Regions from separate parts of the Homo sapiens genome. Here region 2 is linked to region 1. The links are contacts of gene promoters, found by promoter capture Hi-C in human tissues and cell types (Jung and others, 2019). All regions are on one chromosome and are shown on one strand. The core of a region is centred on a gene start or on the middle of the fragment in contact, and the rest is flanking DNA. Distances in the headings are between cores, read along the strand shown.

Region 1 (3,022 bases), core at 148-2,647:
ATTATTTTTTTGAGACAGAGTCTCTCACTGTCACCCGGGCTGGAGGGCAATGGCGCGATCTTGGCTCACTGCAACCTCCACCTCCTGGGTTCATGCAATTCTCCTGCCTCAGCCTCCCAAGTAGCTGGGATTACAGGTGCACACCACCACACCCAGCTAAATTTTTGTATTTTTAGTAGAGATGGGGTTTCATTATGTTGGCCAGACTGGTCTTGAACTCCTGACCTCTTGATCCGCTCAACTCAGCCTCCCAAAGTGCTGGGATTATAGGCGTGAGCCACCGCGCCCGGCCAATGTTAGCTATTATTAATGGACAATTATGACTAATTATGAAGTACTTTCTTTTAAAAGCCTAGATCTCTAAGTAATGTCTTCCTCCCTCAGTCCTCAGCACCCGCCTGGTCGGGCATTGGGTCTCACCAAGCTACAGAGCCCTAGGTGCGCTGTGTTAGGTCACCAAGACTTTAGTCTGGTGATACTGACCCCAGGGCCCCAAATCACCATGTCTGCAAGTCTGGAACCCAAAGGCCTCCGTTCCCCGGGGTGGTGCAGGGAAGCCGCAGGGAGTGCGTCAGCTGTGGAGAGCGTAGGGGTGGGAAGTGAAGGCTGTGGGGTCCCCCAGGGGGTCAGGTTCGTCCTCGAAGGCAGGCCCTCCACAGGAAGACCTGGTTGGGGTGGGATCGGACACGCGGCCCAGACCCAGGCACCTGTGGATGGACGGCCGGGCATGTGGCCATCGGCTGGGGGCCTCTGCAGGCCGCGCCACCAGAGTGGGCACTCAGGGTCCGCAAGGGTCTGGGGCGCCCCCAGAGAAGCCCGCCGCCCCAGGCCGGTGCGGAGTTGACTGGGTCCCCCCGGCCCCGTGTCTGTCAGCTCCCGCGCGGCCCCTGGGAAGGGACGCGGATCGGATGCGGGCTCCGGGCCCTGCAGGCAGTTGAGAGCGCGGTTCCCTTGGGTATCCGGGGTCCGGGGTCACTTTCGCGCCTCCGCACTATTCCCACGCCCGCGCGCACTCTCGTGGCCATCCGCGTTGCGAGAGTGTCGCGCCCGGAGGTCAGGGGCGTGGAGCCCGGGCCCCCGAGTCTCCCCTGCGTGCGGCGGGGCGCGGGGCGCGGGGCGCGGGGCGCAGGGCTGAGGCGGAGCACAATGGTTGAATGAATGAATGAACGAACGAATGAACGGCGCTGCAGAGCCCTCTCCAGGCGGAATGAAAGTGCAAACCCAGCGTTTCGGGCGGCAGAGTGGCGGGGGCCACCTGGCGCGGCCGCGCGGCCAGGGTCCGGTTTCGCTTCCTCCCAGCCCGGGGGCGGGGCCTGCGTGGCTGTCCCCGCCCCGGTCCGCCCCCGGCCAGCCCCCGGCGCCGCGCGGAACTCGCGGGTTCGGAGCCGCCCGCTGAGGTCAGAAGGAGGCGTCTGCGCTGATCGGGTCCGCCGCGCGCCAGAGCCAGAGTCGCAGCCGAGGGGAGCCGGGGCCGGAGCCCGAGCCCGAGCCGAGCCGGAGCCCGAGCGAGCGGCGGAGACCGTGCCCCCGCCTCGGCCCCGCGCCGCCGCGGCCAGGCCCGGCATGGAGGAGGAGTGCCGGGTGCTCTCCATACAGAGCCACGTCATCCGCGGCTACGTGGGCAACCGGGCGGCCACGTTCCCGCTGCAGGTACGCATCCGCCCGCAGCCCGGGCTTACGTAACCCGAGCCCGTGACCTTGGCGGGGCTGCCCGAGACGAGCCTCAGTTCCCCGAGGGAGGCTCGGGAGCTGCGGGCAGAGCCTGGCGCGGGCGCCCTGGAGGCAGGCGCGGGATGAGCCTCCCGCTCTGCTTGGCTTGCGGGGGCGGAAGCGGAGGGCTGAGCGCTCTGCGGGCCCCTGCGGGTGGGACGGGTCCGGCGTCGGGGTACGCGGGTAGGAGGGAGCCCTGTGCACCAGCTATGGCGCAGCCGCTCGTCCTCGCCCCTTCCCGCCGACCGGGCCAACTGCCGCGGGGGCGGGCGGGCGGTGCGGCTCCCGGAGGCGAGGAAATGTCGCAGAGCCCCGAGGAGTCCCGGAGCAGTCACGCGAGCCGGGACCTTGCCCCGCTGGAACGCAGAAGCGGCCGTGGAGCTCGAGACGCTCGCGCGCTCACCTCCTGGGCCCCTGTGCGTGGGGAAGTCAGGAAGAAGACGCCGAGTGAGGTCACGGTGCCCACGAGGGTGGATTCCCCTCGGCCTGACCACGCCAGGAGGTGGCCGAAGGGAAGAGGGTGGGGCAGGGGCTGCTCTGCACCCTCTAGCAGAGCGGCATCCCTGCAGGTGTTTGCTCTGACGAGGAGAAGCCCCAGAGAGCAGTTCGGGACTGTGCGGATTGGCTTTAGGGAGCCAGCTTTTAAAACGCGTTGGCCCACGGCCTCCTGGTTGCAGCTAAGTGGCCCGTGGAGGGGTAGGAGAGGCCTGGGTGCAGTGGCGTGGGTGTCACGCAGGGCCGAGGCAGAACCAGGACGACGGGCACTTCCTGGCCTTGTCGAGTCAGCAGGAGGGCTGGGGGTGCCCTGCCGGGTCGTGCTCTCCTGTGCTGCCCACCTGCGGCCTGGTCACTGGGGACGGGAGCAGGTATGCCTGGTCCCTGTGCTGGGCCCCACGGGATGTAAAGAAGGGCCACCTGGGCACGGCGGGGCCTGCGGTGCGGGCTGGCCTGGGAGGAGGACAGGAAGAGGGGAGCAGAGCTTCAGTGGAATTTGAGGGCTGACCTAGGCGTGCCCCCAGGAGGACCAAGCTGAGCAGAGTTGAGCGTGGAAAGGCAGGGGGTTCGAGTCCGAAGTAAGTGGAGGTCCTGTTGGGAAGGATGCGGTGCTTCACAGGTGGTCTTACTTGAGACCCTGTTCCATCCAGCTGCAGGCAGACCCTGCCTGGGACAGTCAGGGTGCACCGGTTCTGTGGCTCCGGCTCTTAAGCACTGCTCTGGACCACTCCTAGCTTGAGGGGGTTGGGGGAGGTCACCACAGGCTGGCGGATTGCTTGGGCAGAGTCAGAGGTAGGATTGGGCTTGGGAAGAAAGG
Region 2 (3,022 bases), core at 209-2,708, 220 kb after region 1:
GGCGCCTGGCCTGTCCGGCAGGCTGGGTGGCTGTTCTCTGTTGAGCCCACAGCCATGCCCCACATGCAGGACGTTTGCCTATCACTTGGAGGCCTTTCAGGGATCTTGCTAGCCCACGGCTGAGCACAGGGTAGACCTCACCAACTCACCCACAACCTGGCCCCTTGACACACTGGTGCTGTGAGGAGGAAGATGTGGGCACTCTTAGGTCCCTGGTCCTAGGGGTCTGTGCTGGGGTGGGGCTCGTTGACCTGCATCCTGGCTGGCCCTGTGACTCTGCCTGTTTACAGTGAGCAGCTCCTGGCCAAAAGCTGCTTATTGGATTAGCCGGTGCCCCGACGGCAGAGCCCGCAGCTGTGCGCAGGAGGACGAACCTGTGTGTATGTCCTGCTTCAGCGCGCTCCTGGGGTCCCTTGAGTTGGTCTCTGTGACTAGAAGGACAGTGCTGGCCACGCAGGTGGCACCCTGGGGGTGCCCAGCACCCACTTCCTGCTGAGCAGATGCTCTGGGTGGCAACGGCCCCTGCCAAGCCTGGGCAGCTCAGGCCAGGTCCTAATCCCTCCGCTTGAGCTCGGCTCCTCACCCTTTGGCCAGGCTGACACCTGCTCCCCGCAGGTCCTTCTCGCCGGCTTCAGGCAGCACAGGACCGAGGGCTGAAGATGCTGAGCAGCTACCCGGCCTGCCTCTTCTCAGGGATCTGTGTGGCCCTGCTGGCGGTGGCTTTGGCCTATTACTTCTACTGGTGAGTGAGGCCGGGGCCCGGGGGCCTGGGCAGTCCTGGGGGCCTTTACTGTGTGCTCCCCTCCTCTTCCAGCCCTGGACCGTTCTCTGCATGTCAACAAACCCTGCCTAGCCCTTTGCAGGGGAACTCCTGGGAGGTAGGGAAGCAGGGGATGGCAGGAACTCATTCTGATCCCTCCTGGGGTCCTTGGGCAGCTCTCCCATCCTTCTGCAAAGGGGTTTTTGTTCAGAACATTCCTGAAGGAGCTGAGCGGTTTCATACCATCTGGGCGGTGTTTGTAGATGCCTGGCATGTCCTGGGACGGACAAGTGCCTGATGTATGGGCACAGACTCCCACTGCCCCCCAAGGCAGGTGCTGTAGGATGGCTGATTTACATGGTGATCTGCACCCTGAGCAGAAAATGCGTAGTTACCATCAAAGTGGCGCTGCTCTGTCACACCCATTGCCTGATGGGCTGGTTTATGGTGATCGCAGGCGATTTCCCAGCTGCCCTTGACCAGAGTCCGTGCCGGCTCTTACTGCAGAAGCCGAGAATCAGCAGGTGTCACAGATCACGCTGGCCTAGGATTTCAGAGACTCGGTCCCAACCCCGCTGTGTCTCCGGGCTGGGATTAGATGGGGTGTTTGTGCTCCAGGCCTCCAGTGCTCGTTGGTAAAACGGGACACTGATGCCGCCTGCTGTTTCTGCAGAGGGTCAAAGGGCACAAGATGCGTGCCAGCCTCTGTCCATGGGGTGTGTGATGATGGTACCAGGTGGTGCAGGGGGCAGCTGGGGGGACCCAAAAACCCCAAGTCTGGGTGCCAACTTTATTTTCTAGAGCCGGAGAACGAGGTGATTTCCTAGGAAGAGACCACAGCTCCCCTGGAGGTTCCACGCTAGACTGTGTTTGTTTTTCTTGGTGCACACTTGGCCAGGAGCTGCTTCTCTCTGATCTGGAAGCTTTCTCTTCTATAGATCCGATTAATGCACTTCCATTGCTAACAGCGGGGAGGGTCACTGCAGGTGACACAGGCAGGAGGATGCCCAGTCTTCCCCATGACTCAGTTTATGTAAAAACGATCAATACTATTTACAAAGAGGTTTACCCAGAGCCAAAAGACAGAATCCTAAGGCTGAGGCAGGAGGATCCCTTGAGCTCAGGAGGTCAAGGCCACAGTGAGCTGTGATTACGCCACTGCACTCCAGCCTGGGCAACAGAGCGAGACCCCATCTCTAAAAAACAAACAGAACCTAAGTGTGGAATTTAGGAGACAAATTAGCTTGGGATTTGGGGCCTCTGAGAGTTTGAGCAAGGGGGTCGGTCATTGGTGAGGGTTCCAAAACCCCAGGAGCAACCGCTCACTCATCCTCAACCTGGGGCTACCGCGAGTGTGACGGGGGCCATGTATACAGGGCAGGCTGGCCCCAGCGAGCGGGCGACTCTGGCAGCTTCCACGGACCGTTCCTGGCGCCTGGGCGGAGAAAGGGTATCAAATCATTTCCTGGGATTCGTGGCTGAGCTATGCAGTTTCACAAATGCTCAAAATGATGAAAGACCTATTAGGTGTTGGGAAAAGAGCGCCTCTGTCTGGGAAGAGTGCCGCATTGCGCCTGAGCAGCTGCTCGTAATTGGCTTATGCCAAGCCTCTCAGCTTCAGCCTGCTGACCAGGTGGCAGGGGACTGGCTGTGCCACCTCCTCACCCACAGCGTTTCCAAGGATGTGCATTTCTCCTTTGCCCTCAGGTCTTCAGTAAGTTAGCTGTGGAATTCGAGGCCTCAAGTGGTGGCCTGCGCCGTGGCAGCGTACCCACAGGTGCCATTTAGTGGCACTTGCAGTACGACCTGGGAGCTTCCGGAACCTGTGGGCTTGTGAGGTCCCTGTTGATCCTGTTTGACCTGGAGGGCCACAGAGGCGGCTTGGTTTTTTTGTGGGGACAGAGACGTTGAGCGTCACGGTGGGTGCTAGGCCTGTAATAGGAGCGATTCTGCATTGATGGCACCACGGGTCCAGGGAGGCCTCGCCAGCTCCCTCCCAGAGCAGGAAGGCGGGCTGGCCACTCACCAGGAGCCTGGGAGTCTGGCGTCCTTCACGAGGCGCTCCTGAAGCACCTCTGCCTACCCTGCATTCGCCACACGTGCCCAGGTACCTGGCGACGGACAGCAGGGAGCCCACAATGCCAGCTCTTCCTGGAGACGCCCGCCCCTGCGGTGGCCACTGGTGTTCAGTATGTGACTCTCTGAGCGTGGGGTTCTAGACCAGGAACCCTCTGTGCTCGGTCCACATGAAAAGAGCAGCTT

The links. The method cuts DNA at HindIII sites, captures the fragments that hold promoters and counts their contacts. A contact is called where the count stands out against the background at its distance.
Region 2: a fragment that was not itself captured here is called in contact with the fragment with the promoter of PDXK in region 1 in 1 of the 25 tissues and cell types used here (lymphoblastoid cells).

What each region holds. Positions count from the first base shown.
Region 1 is chr21:43,717,732-43,720,753 of GRCh38, forward strand. It overlaps PDXK (pyridoxal kinase), which reads left to right and starts at 1,398. Exons shown (of 11, transcript NM_003681.5): 1 at 1,398-1,650. The coding sequence starts at 1,564. It overlaps LOC124905032 (a long non-coding RNA gene), which reads right to left and starts at 817. Exons shown (of 2, transcript XR_007067896.1): 1 at 484-817. RefSeq lists enhancers at 700-749, 2,091-3,000 and silencers at 900-1,689, 1,730-2,039, 2,197-2,386. The HindIII fragment of the contact is 22,908 bases long and covers 1-3,022 here.
Region 2 is chr21:43,939,590-43,942,611 of GRCh38, forward strand. The region is part of intron 2 of AGPAT3 (1-acylglycerol-3-phosphate O-acyltransferase 3); the gene reads left to right. Among named protein-coding and RNA genes, the nearest start is that of TRAPPC10, 71 kb to the right of the region's middle. RefSeq lists an enhancer at 1-633 and a silencer at 1,173-1,344. The HindIII fragment of the contact is 3,906 bases long and covers 1-3,022 here.